2 separate regions of the Homo sapiens genome follow, and region 1 is linked to region 2. Evidence: promoter capture Hi-C in 16 types of primary human blood cells and fetal thymus (Javierre and others, 2016). All regions are on one chromosome and are shown on one strand. The core of a region is centred on a gene start or on the middle of the fragment in contact, and the rest is flanking DNA. Distances in the headings are between cores, read along the strand shown. Region 1 overlaps UBTD1 (ubiquitin domain containing 1). Region 2 holds the start of EXOSC1 (exosome component 1).

Evidence for each region. The method cuts DNA at HindIII sites, captures the fragments that hold promoters and counts their contacts. A CHiCAGO score of 5 or more calls a contact.
Region 1: a fragment that was not itself captured here is called in contact with the fragment with the promoter of EXOSC1 in region 2 in 2 of 17 cell types (M0 macrophages and M1 macrophages); the score reaches 5.3 in M0 macrophages.

Annotation. Positions count from the first base shown.
Region 1 is chr10:97,548,205-97,554,670 of GRCh38, forward strand. The region is part of intron 1 of UBTD1 (ubiquitin domain containing 1); the gene reads left to right. It overlaps LOC124902488 (a long non-coding RNA gene), which reads right to left. Exons shown (of 3, transcript XR_007062259.1): 2 at 5,616-5,704. Among named protein-coding and RNA genes, the nearest start is that of ANKRD2, 21 kb to the right of the region's middle. RefSeq lists enhancers at 3,178-3,678, 5,470-5,971 and a silencer at 5,521-5,600. The HindIII fragment of the contact is 3,470 bases long and covers 1-3,343 here.
Region 2 is chr10:97,441,839-97,448,102 of GRCh38, forward strand. EXOSC1 (exosome component 1) reads right to left here and starts at 4,168. Exons shown (of 8, transcript NM_016046.5): 1 at 4,117-4,168; 2 at 3,894-4,009; 3 at 1,399-1,473. The coding sequence starts at 4,147. It overlaps ZDHHC16 (zDHHC palmitoyltransferase 16), which reads left to right and starts at 4,337. Exons shown (of 12, transcript NM_198046.3): 1 at 4,337-4,515. RefSeq lists enhancers at 3,297-3,877, 3,878-4,457 and a silencer at 4,389-4,598. The HindIII fragment of the contact is 1,823 bases long and covers 3,425-5,247 here.

The sequences.
Region 1 (6,466 bases), core at 359-2,858, 100 kb after region 2:
TTTACACATACATAATTATCCATGATCCAGGTTGCCAGAAAGCACATGTAATCAGGGTTCCCTCCAGAGCTGCTAACGCTGGAACTGCTCGTATTCAAGCCAGGACTCTGGCTGCACTTGAGAGCAAACACATCAGTACGTGGCAAAGATGAGAGTGTGTTGACTGCAGGAAAGGGACATAGGTGCTTAAAACAAGGGAAGTGCGGTAATTCCCACCTATGTCTTACTCTGCTTGTGAAGTATAGTATTCTCTCCAAAGCAGCCTCAGAAAACATGTTAGTTGCATGGCAGGATAGAACCCTAGAGTCAGGCTGGGCGCAGTGGCTCACGCCTATAATCCCAGCACTTTGAAAGGCCAAGGCAGGCGGATCACTTGAGGCCAGGAGTTCAAGACCAGCCTGGCCCATCTCTACTAAAAATACAAAAACTAGCCATGGTGGCACACGCCTGTAATCCCAGCTACTTGGGAGGCTGGGGCAGGAAAATCACTTGAACCCAGGAGGTGGAGGTTGCAGTGAGCTGAGATTGCGTCACTGTACTCTGGTCTGGGCAACAGAGCAAGACTCCGTCTCAAAAAAAGACTAAACGAAAACCCTAGAGTTAGATCCTGAAGATTTGGGGGCTCTGTTTGTAATTGATATCAGATAGGCCAGTTTTCCTCTGGAAATGGGTCGGGGGATGGCTGGTCAGTGCCCAGCTCTGGGAGACCACCCTTCCCCGAGCCCGGCCAGATGTGGCCAGGGCCCCCAGGCTGGACTCACGGACCAGAGAGCAGAAAAAGGCCTGCTCTCCCTGAGCCCAGCCAGGCAGCCGACCCCGTGAATGTGTACGTTGTATGCAGCACCATGAAAGCACACCCTGTCTCACGCATGTGTGCCCCCTTGTCCGTATCTGTGGCTGCCCGCACACTGAGGCCTTGGGTAGGTCTGTTTCTCTTGGCTGCAATTTTGTCTCTCTCATGGCCACAGAGGATCCGGGCCTGCCTCCTCCAGCAGGTTTCCTCACTGTACACCTACCTCAGTGACTGGTTTTGTCCCTCCTGGACTCCCACCTCCACCCACTCCCTTTCTTTCTGCCTCTTCCTATTCAGTGAGGCTTGTTCACAAAACATAGTCCTCTGTTCCCCCTTTGCAGGGGTTTCTTGCAGACAGCTCTGTCTACTCTCCCATCTGATCTGTGCCTCCCCTCTCCAGCTCCTCCTTCTTTTCCTAAACTGCCTGCCCATTTCACTCGCCCGTGCAGCATGCCAGGCATTAACTCTGTCTGTAGGATCAAAAAGATGAACTGGAGGATGTCCCAGCCTCAGGCAGACAAACAAGATCATTGCAGAGAATTTCTGTTGCCATGGGCTGGGCATCATCCTAGAGCCGAGAAGGGGGCTCTCAGGGGTGCCACCCTGCCTTGATCCTTCAGCTCTGCTCAGGACCACCTGGGACCCACTGTACCTCTAGAGATGCCCGGTAAGAAGCCTGGCCCATCACTTAGCAACTGGCTCCACCCCTTTCCCTCCCTGAGCTGGGGCCCGAGAGGAGGAAAGGCCCACAGGCCTGTAAAGAGGCCACCAAATCCCAGAGCATGGGAGGCCCCAGCTGACCAGAGCTGGGCCAGCACTTTCCCTTCAAAAGTTACCTAGGCTCTGAGGGTCATCTCTGCTAAGTCTAACTATAAATATCGCGCTTCCTGAAGGGATTACCTGGGCACCACACCCCCTGGCTCCCCCCTCCCCGCCTGGGCTGATCCTTCTTCTGGGCCCTGTGTTCTTCCTGACCCCTTGTTCCCGCTGCCAGGTGGGACACTTCAGACTACCTGTGTTTCAGCTGTGACTGCTGGGGTGGGAGGAGAGAAACAAGAGATTCGAGTCTGTATCCTGGCCAGAGGGCCCTTGCCGGCCAGCTGTTGGGACAAGGAGGCTCTTGTTCCTGCCTTCTCCCGTCTGGTGTGAGAGCCGTGTCTCTCACACCAGCCAGAGCAAGCCCAGACTTGTCACATAATCGGTGCATCTGGGAAGGACACTGTTGGCCCCATCCCTGGAGTAAGGGCCTGGGGACAGAACTTGGTAACCGAGTGTGGAACAGCTTGGGGATTGCCGCAGGTATAAATAGGGCTGTTTCCTGGCTTGGGTGGCCTGACTGGGGAAATCTCTGCTCCCTTTGGCTGGTCTCAGATTTGGTGTCACATCCCAGTGGCTCACTTATTCCAGTCCCTGAAGTCACAAGAACCATCTCCTGGGGTCTGAGATCAAGAATTGAAGGAGGGGCCAGCCCGCTGCAGACCTCTCCCCTGCCTCCGCCTGCCTCCCTGCTGCTGCAGGAGCTGTAACTCCTCCACCCCTCCCCACCTGCTCACGGCGCCTCGGTCAGTTCCTTTCTCAATTCAGCAGGTACTTGCTGAGAACCGCGCTGGGCCAGGCACTGTGTGAGGCAGTGGGATCTATTCAGCTAGGGTCTGCCATCCTTCCTTGTGTTTTTGGAATCTCCTCTTCTGTGTAGCCATCCTGAGTTCAGCAGTGTGAATTGAGTGGTGGGAGTAAACACACACACACGCATACACACTCACACTCATAGATGCACACCAGCTCTGGGCAACTTGGAGAGGACCTTAAATGCTCTGTCTCCCACTCTCCTTTCGGTGCCCTCCCTTGGGGTGATATCACCAGACACCATTCATTATTGAGGCCAAACCACAGCATCCACCATCATTATCCTCCTCCAGCCCAGACGTAGTGCCCTCTTGCTCTCTTCCCTCCCAAATCAGCTCTCAGCAGCACCTCTGGAGACCATGTGTTGAACTGTTTGTTAAGATGTGGCTGGGCATGCCATTTCCACTCCTGTTTTGCTGTGTTTACAAATAGGTTCTTAAGTCAGATCAAGTACATACCCCAGCCCAGCCCCTGTAACTGGTTCCATGGGTGTGAGGTAGGCCCTGAGAATCTGTCTTTTGAACCAGCACCCCAGGAGATCCTAATACGGGAGGTTTCGACAACTCTTTGGGACCCTAGCCTTTGCCTCTATACACAGACATATACATTCTCTGCTCAATCACAAATGTTGGCCAGGCATGGTGGCTCACACCTGTAATCCTAGCACTTCGGGAGGCCGAGACAGGAGGATCCCTTGAGCCCAGGAGTTCGAGACCAGCCTGGGCAACATAGGGAGACCTCTCTATTAAAAAAAAAAAAAAAGTTTAAACAAAAAATGTCTTTTGGTGTCCTCTGCCCAGCACAATTGCGGAAACGCATGCTTTTTGTGGGTGTGTTGCTCTGCTGCCTCCCCGTGCAGGTTGTATGCCTTTGTCAGCTTCATTAAGGACAGGAACCATTTCTGTTACTCTGTCTTTGACCTGAAGCTTATCTAGGACAGGAGATGTAAGTAGAAGCTACTAAATGCTCCTGCTGCTGAAACCAGCAGAGCCTGCCTGGCCCTGGACAAAGCCTCCAGGAGCTGTCAGTAACTGATATCCTACAGGGTATGGGCTTAGCAAGTCAGCACCACCGTCGGCTCCCCAAACTCTTCCCACTTTTCCATGGCTGCACCCCAGAACTCCAAGTATCCTCTTTCCTTATTAACAACTTTTATGGTATTATTCTTATTATTAAAGTAATACATTCTTATTGTAGAAAACTTGGAAAATATAAACCAAGAAGAAATCATCGGTAACTGCCAATGAAATATAACCACTGTTTACATTTTGATATAAATTCTTCCAGCCTTTTTTCTCTTTTAAAGACCAGGTCTTACTCTGTCGCCCAGTCTGGAGTATAGTGGCGTAATCATAGCTCATCACTGCAGCCTTGACCTTCTGGGCTCAAGTTATCCTCCCGCCTCAGTCTCCCAAAGTGCGGGGGTTATAGGTGCGAGCCACTGTGCTCAGCCCTCCTGTCTTTTTAATATATATAATTATACAGCTGAGCACTTTGGGAGGCAGAAGAAGGAGGATCACTTGAAGACAGGAGGAGTTTGAGACCAGCCTGGGCAACATGGCGAGACCCCATCTCTAAAAAAAAAAAAAATTTTTTTTAAATTATCCAGTCATGGTGGTACATGCCTATAATCACAGCTCCTCAGGAGGCGGAGGTGGGAGCATCGCTTGAGCCCAGGAGGTTGAGGCTGCAGTGAGCTATGATCACATGGCCTGAGTGATAGAGCCAGACCCCGTCTAAAAACAAACAAAAAATAATAATTATACACCCTTTTTTTTTTTTTTTTTTTTGAAACACAGTCTCGTTCTGTGACCCAGGCTGGAGTGCAGTGGTGCAATCTTGGCTCACTGCAACCTCCGCCTCCTCAGTTCAAGCAATTCTCCTGCCTCAAGCTCCCAAGTAGTTGGGACTGCAGGCGCGCACCACCAAGCCTGGCTAATTTTTGTATCTTTGTATTTTTGTAGAGATGGGTTTTTACCATGTTGTCCCAGCTGGTCTTGAACTCCTCACCTCAAGTGATCTGCCTGCCTCAGCCTCCCAAAGTTCTGGGATTACAGGGGTGAACCACCACACCTGGCCAATACATACTTTTTTTGAATCAAAAGCTGGAGCACTGTGCGCTTGCTGTTTGAGACCTTTTTTCACTGTATGGTGGACGTTTTCCCGTGTTAGCATCCTACCTCACCATCACAGAGTGGCTGCCGCTGATGCCTCGAGTGGATGCCCATATTTTATGTAGCCTTTCTCCTGGCCATGTGCATTAGGTTGTTCCTAGCTTTAACCTGTTAAAAAGGTGCTGAGTTAAACAGCTTTGTAGATAAGTCTTCACCACACACTTGTGATTATTTTCTTCGAATAAATTATTAGAACCAAATAGGTGAGCCAAAGAGATGGACATTTTTAAGTTTCTCAGTACCTCGCAGAGGCGTGCACCAATTTGTGCAGCATATGAATGTTCACACTTTCCACTGCCCAACTTTTTTGACTCCATACAGTATCTTTTTGTTTTTGTTTTCCATTTTTCTGAGATGGAGTTTCACTCTTGTTGCCCAGGCTGGAGTGCAATGGCATGATCTCAGCTCACTGCAACCTCCATCTCCCGGGTTCAGGCAGTTCTCCTGCCTCAGCCTCCTGAGTAGCTGGGATTACAGGCATGTGCCACCATGCCCGGCTAATTTTTGTATTTTTAGTAGAGATGAGGTTTCACCATGTTGGTCAGGCTTTCTCGAACTCCTGACCTCAGGTGATCCACCTGCCTCAGCCTCCAAAAGTGCTGGGATTACAGGCGTGAGCCACCGCGGCCAGCCAATATCTTTTTAAGTAAATGAAATTAATATGTTCATCATCGACTTGTCTATATGCTTAGATGAAAAACTTCCTTTTCTGTGTTTGTCTGTATCAGTGGCTAAGATTGTAAGCACCCGTGTATAGGGCTGCAAATGTTTGGGCATGTCTCCTATACACACTTACCTCTGGGCCTGGAGAACTTGGTGAGTTGTTTTTGTACAGCGTTTGACCCACTGATGAAGAGAGCCAACACCAGCCCAGAGGTGCTGCGGCTGCCCTCTGCTGGCTCTGAGGTGCAGTGATGACTGAGAAGGCAACGGTTGGACTCCTGGGCTCAGCTTACATTAACCCTGCCTGCCCCCTCCCCCTCACCAGCCCATTGTAAGATTTTCAGCCACAGAGGCCCTACCTGGAGGGTGAGGAGTTTGTCACCGCTGTATCCTGGGTCACTGCATTAATTAGGCGCTGTTAATACTTGCAGAGGCTCACTCACAGTAACTGTCAGTGGGAGAGAAGCATAGAAGTGACTGCTAGCAAAGCTGGCTGCTGTTGTGTAGCGGGGAGGGGACCCTGAAGGCTACTCTGGGGGAGCTTGAGAGGTTTGCAAGCCAAGGCAGCATCCTTCAGGCACGTGTGTGGCCTCCTGAGGTGATGACTTTGAAAGGGGCCACCATGGAGCTGTGTTTATTTTAAAGGTCAGTTCTTTAGTCTTCTCAAGAGAAAATGAGATGCATGGACACAGTTACAGCTCAGGTGTCCTTGTAGTCACAGTCCAGCAACCTCACTTGTTGGGCATAGAGCCCAAAAGTGAACATTTTATTTTTTTGTTTGTTTTCGTTTTTTTTTTTTTTTCTGAGATGGAGTCTCACTCTTGTCACCCAGGCTGGAGTACAGTGACATGATCTCAGCTCACTGCTACCTCCGTCTCTGGGGTTCAAGTGATTCTCCTGCCTCACCTCCATAATAGCTGGGATTACAGGTGCCCACCACCACTCCCAGATAATTTTTGTATTTTTAGTAGATATGGTGTTTTTCCATGTTGACCAGGCTGGTCTCGAACTCCTGGACTCAAGCGATCCACCTGCCTCGGCCTCCCAAAGTTCTGGGATTACCTGCGTGAGCCACTGTGCCTGACCATTTATTTATTTATTTATTTATGAGACAGGGTCTCACTGTGTCACCCAGGCTGGGGTGCAGTGGTGCAGTCATAGTTCACTGCAGCCTTGACCTCCTGGGCTCAAGTGACCCTCCCATCTCAGC
Region 2 (6,264 bases), core at 2,918-5,417:
GGTATAGACTTTTTAAAGTATAGATGGCTAACAATTAAAAAAAAAAAAAAAAAAGAGGCTGGACACAGTGGCTCATGCCTGTAATCCCAGCACTTTGGGAGGCTGAGGTGGGCGCATCACTTGAGGTCAGGAGTTCAGGACCAGCCTGGCCAACATGGTAAAACCCCACCTGTACTAAAAATACAAAAATTAGCCAGGCGTGGCAGCACATGCCTATAATCCCAGCTACTCGGGAGGCAGAGGCAGTAGAATTGCTTGAACCCAAGAGGCCAGAGGCTGCAGTGAGCCGAGATCGTGCCACTGCACTCCAGCCTGGGTGACAGAGCAAGGCCCTGTCTCAAAAAAAAAAAAACAGGAATGGCAAAAAATAAAGTCTTTTGCTTCTCTGCAGAAAAAGAACTCAGCTTCAGATGTTCAAAAATAGGCCTCCTAATCATCCTCTGGCATCCCTGTTTCCCAGACACAGGTAGAACTATGTATTCAGGGAATCAGCTCAGTGAAGGAACTATGCATGCCTGAACTTGGCTGCCTTGATTATTATCCTAGAAATCTGTAAGCCTGCACAGTCCAGTAAAACTTTCTGTGATGACAGAAAAGTCATGTGCTGACCAGTATAGCAACCACTAGCCACAAGTGGCTATTGAGTACTTGAAATGTGGCTAATGTGACTAAGGAAATCAATTTTATTTTTTTCTTGAGAGACAGAGTCTTGCCCTGTTACCCAAGCTGGAGTGATCATGGCTCACTGCAGCCTCAACCCCCTGGGCCCAAGCGATCTTCCTGCTTCAGCCTCCCAAGTAGTTGGGACCACAAGCATGTGCTACCATGCCTGGCTAATTTTTTATTCTTCTTCTTCTTTTTTTTTGAGACGGAGTCTCACTCTGTTGCCCAGGCTGGACTGCTGTGACGCAGGCTCACTGCAACCTCCACCTCCTGGGTTCAAGCACTTCTCCTGCCTCAGCCTCCCGAGTAGCTGGGATTACAGGCATGCACCACCACGCTAAGCTAATTTTTGTATTTTTGGTAGAGACAGGGTTTCACCATGTTGGCCATGATTGGCCAGGCTGGTCTTGAACTCCTGACCACAGGTGATCTGCCCACCTCGGCCTCCCAAAGTGCTGGGATTACAAGCATGAGCCACCATGCCCGGCAATTTTTGATTCTTTTTGTAGAGATGAGGTTTCACTATGTTTCCCAGGCTGGTCTTGAACTCTGGGCTGAAGCAATCCTCCTGCCTCGGCCTCTTAAAGTGCTAGAATTACCAGTGTGAGCCACTGTGCCCTGCCAGAAATAAATTTATGTAGCTTGTGGCTATCATACTGGACACTGCAGTTCTGGTATGGTCATGATTTCAGTATTGAATGGGCATTCTAAGCATGGAGGTCAGGACCAACTTACCTTACAGGTTACAATAGCTCCCACATCTGGCAGTAACTGGGACTCTGTTTCTCTCACTACAGACACCACTGGAAGCTACAGAGGGAACAACAAAAAACTGAAATGTCCTGACTAACCCTTGGGTCAAGGCATTTGTGGCTTGAGAGTAATATAGGAATGTCTTGGTATAAAGGTGAGAGTTGGAGTATGGATTCATTTATAGCCCAGAGCAGAAGGCCTTAGAAATTTTAGGAAATAGGAGGACCAGGAGGCTACAGAATGCTGCTAGAAGACATACATCTCTAAACTTCTTTTTTTGTTGTTGGAGACGGAGTCTTGCTCTGTCGCCTAGACTGGAGTGCAGTGGCACGATCTCGGCTCACTGCAAGGTCCACTTCCCGGGTTCACGCCATTCTCCTGCCTCAGCCTCCCGAGTAGCTGGGACTACAGGCACCCGCCACCATGCCCAGCTACTTTTTTTTGTAGTAAATCTCTAAACTTCTAATAAGTTTTTTGGTGATTCTCTCAGAATTTCTTGGTATACAACTATATTGCCTATAATCATTGACAATTTTACTTTTTTTGTTTTTTTTTGAAATGGAGTTTCACTCTTGTTGCCTAGGATGGAGTGCAAGGGTGCCATCTTGGTTCACTGCAACCTCCACCTCCTGGGTTCAAGTGATTCTCCTGCCTCAGCCTCCCGAGTAGCTGGGATTACAGAAGCCTGTCACCATGCTCGGGTAATTTTTTGTATTTTTAGTAGAGATGGGGTTTCACCATGTTGGCCAGGCTGGTCTCGAACTCCTGACCTCAGGTGATCCACCTGCCTTGGCTTCCCAAAGTGCTGGGATTACAGGTGTGAGCCACTGCGCCCTGCCGACAATTTACTCTTTCCTCCAAAGTTATACTGCTTCCTTCTGTTTCTTATTTTATTGCACAGGCTGAAATTTCCACAAAAATGTTACATAATAGCGGCTATGCTTGTTTTCTTCTATTTTAAGTGAATACTTGCAGAGTTTTCTCTTTGAGCATGGTATTGGCTGTTGGTATAAGACAGATATTTTGAGCCTCATCTTTTATCAATCTCTCCGTTGCTCACAATGCTTCAGCTCTCCTGGCCTTCTTTCAGTTTCCCCAACTTACTAAATTCTTCCCACTTTCAGATCTCTCTTCAACCTATTCTTTCTGCCAGAGCTGCACTCTCTCCACCCACCTGACTCTTACCTACTCTTTAGATGATTCAGCTTAAATGTCACTTCTGCTGACTAGGATGGGTTTGCCTGTTACATGTTCTCAAGGTGCCCTGTAATATTCTTTCAAAGCACCACCACATATGTAACCATATGCTCATTTGAGCATTTATTTGTTTACAATTTGTGTCTGTGTCCTTTGATAGCAGAAACCAAGTCAGCGCTGTGCCTGACACATGAAAATACTCAAGTGATATCTATGAAATGAACAAACTCAGGACTGTTAAGAACATTCCCAACAATGACTGAATAGAAAGCCCCTTGAATCAGACAGCTTAAGTTACTTACTCAAAGCAGAATCAAAGTCAAGTTAGCCAGAACGTAACTGTTCTAATTCTGAATCCTCTTTCTATTGTGCTCCTTCAAATATTGCTTATATGATCCTGAGCTAATCCTGGATCTATCTCTGAAACTAGAAAGGTAGGTATTACTCACACATTCAACATTTATTGAGGAGCTGCCTTGTGCTATATACGGATGGTATGGTGGTAGGGCCTGCTTTCACGGACTTAGATTTAAGCAGGGGAGAAGTCTAGTAGGAAACATATACCTGAGTGTCTCATCATATGCTGACATAGTGCTTGGAAGAAAAGGAACAGAGTTTTTTGTGAGTCTTTAACAAAACAAACAAAAACAAAACACCCCACAAAACTCCTTTCCTCAATTAGTGGGTCCAGAAGGACTTCTCTGAGGTGATAGTAGAGAAGCTATCTAAAGGAGGTAGGAATTAAATAGGCCTAGGAAGATAGAAGCGTTCCAGATAGATGGCATGTTACAAAGGCTCTGTAGCAGGAGAAAGCTTGGCGCATTACCGACACTGAAAGAAGCTAGTATGTTATAAAAAATTTTTAAAGGGCAAGCAGAGACTGTGATTATAACTTTTAAACACAGAAAAGACAGTATGACTAGATTGCGTCAGTGAGGTGGAGATAGTGGCGCTAGATAAAGTCGGAAAGGTAAGCAACATTCATACAGTATGCAACTCACTGCTGGGCTGAGCTGGGCTGGGATGGGATACTGAGTTCGCATCTGCTTTTGTCCCAACTTCCCTCCCCGAGGGTCAGCAGCACAACCAAGCGAGATCAACACAACTAGTGTGTGGTGGCTAAGTGCACCACAGCGGCGATACGGCTAGAAGAAACTAAGAGACCAACATTGTACCACTGAGGCACTAAAGACGCGTCCGCAGTGCCCATGCCTAAGGACTGGAACTCAAGGGCAGCCTAAGGGAAAAACAGAGGGGAGATGGCATGCCGCTTCCTTTACCGCGCCATTCTCGCTGCTCTTCATCAGACAGCCGGCAAGCGACGAAAAGATGTAGCCGTGGCGGGTGTAGGTGCCGCTGCCCGGGCTGCCCTCCTCCAAGTTACACAGACGTTCGCCTGCAGAAAAAATGCTGCATCGGTCACGGGCCCCCAGAAGCTGTAGGCCGTTTAGCCTTCTTGCTTCAGCCCCTATCCAGGACTCTGTACGGGAAGCGCTCACTTACCGGGGATGCAGTATCTCACAGGTGGCGCCATGATTGCCGCTGTCCCAAAACCAGGATGAAAACGAAGTCGATTTCTCATTGGCCAAACCCAGGCACAGTTCCGCAGTAAGACACGTGTCAATTGGTACTCTTTATCCTTGCGAGTAAACTCCATTTCCCAGGTTACCCCGGGACAAATCCGGGGGCGGAACTTCAGAGGTCCACGCTGGCGCCTGCGCGTGTGGTTGAGGATGGGCTGGCGGCGGGTCCGGGTCCGCTGCCTGGCGCTGCGGGCGGCGGGCCATGGTGGTTTGGATTGAGCCGGGCCCGGCCGGGGCGCCGAGTCGGAGGGGGTGGCAGTGAGCGGCGGCAGAGGCTACGGGGCTCGGTTTGGCTGACTGGGGAGTCGGCAGGCGGCAGGTAAGGGCGAAGCCTCGGCCCTTGCTCCCCATCCTAGTCCCTTTTTCTGGGTAGGGCACTGCCCTGGGGCCTTGTCTTGAGTGCGGGTTCCTGCTCTCTCCTCGCCCCGCCCTGCGGGGCCGTGCCCTCCTCAGCCCGAGCGCACCTTCCGAGCAATCGTTACGCTCAGAGCAGGAGGGAAGGAGGTCAAGCGACCCAACTCGTCTGTTTCACAGATATGGAACCTCAGATTCAGAGACAGGGTTTGACTTGTCCAAAATGATCAAGATAGTTAAGATAGAGCCCAAACTGGAACCCACGGTTTTTGACTTCCAGTCCATCGCAGTTTCACCTCGCGGCTGTCATTGAGAAATAAAACCTTTTCCCGGTTTTTTTGTTTTGTTTTTGAGGAGTCTCGCTCTGTCGCCAGGCTGGAGTGCAGTGGAGCGATCTCTGTTCACTGCAACCTCCGCCTCCCGGCATCAAGCGATTCTCCTGCCTCAGCCTCCCGCGCAGCTGGGACTTACAGGCGCGCGCCACCACGCCCAGCTAATTTTTGTAGTTTTAGTAGTGACGGGGTTTCACCATGTTAGCCAGGATGGTCTTGATCTCTTGATCCGCCCGCCTCGGCCTTCCAAAGTGCAGGGAGTACAGGCATGAGCCACTGCCTCCGGCCTTTTCCCGGTTTTTTAAACTGCAGCTTCCAGTCCTGCGGTCCGATCCTCTTCGCGGCCCCTCATCCCCACTTCAGTAAGCTTTCTCTGGTTGAAAAAGCCGAACTCTGGTTGTGTGGGCCCGTCATCAAAAGATAAGCAGCCCCAAAATAAAGTTGTTACTCTTTTTCTTCTCAGCGTGTTAGCCCAGAAGGGAGGTCTGCACATGAATAAAATGCTACTCTTTATTGATGTTGGGTATCTCCTACTTGAGATTGCAAACATCCTGAGAGCAGCGTCTTTGTCCAGATGACATTCGCCACGACTTTGATCTCAGTTCACCTGACTTCTGATGGCTTTGCCGTCTGTCCTTCCCTGTCCCCTCAGTCGACTTTCCCATTGGGAAACAGATGTGACTTAAAGCCATGGGAAGAGGGGAGTGTTGTGGCCAGCAATCTCCTCCAGTCTGGTGGCAGATGACCAGTATGGCCTGTGACTATTACTGAAGGATCAGAGTACTCGGGCTTGTGCTTGGGGTGGTAGTAAAGCTGCGCTTTGCTCTGTTTCCTCCCGTTCACTGAGATTAGCCCCTTCTCCCCTACACACATCTTTTTGAATTTTGCTTTACTTCTATTTCTTGAGATGAAAAGTCTGGGCCAGGTGCGGTGGCTCACGCCTGCAATCCCAGCACTTTGGGAGGCTGAGGCAAGCACATCACCTGAGGTCGGGAGTTTGAGACCAGCCTGACCAACATGGAGAAACCCGGTCTCTACTAAAAAAATACAAAATTAGCCAGGCGTGGTGGCACATGCCTGGAATCCCAGCCACTCAGGAGGCTGAGGCAGGAGAATTGCTTGAACCCAGGAGGCGGAGGTTGTGGTGAGCCCAGATTGTGCCATTGCACTCCAGCCTGGGCAACAAGAGTGAAACTCCATCTCAAAAAAAAAAAAAAAGAAAAGTCTGTGTGTTCAGTTGCGGCCCACTTACTACATATGTAATTTTCCTGGCATCCCATACCCCATTAGCTAATGGAGAGAGGCCCTAGCCTCAGACTTTGTTCACCCAAATCTGTATCTGTGCGTCTAGGAGCTTTCTGTTTACACGGTTGGGCTGATTT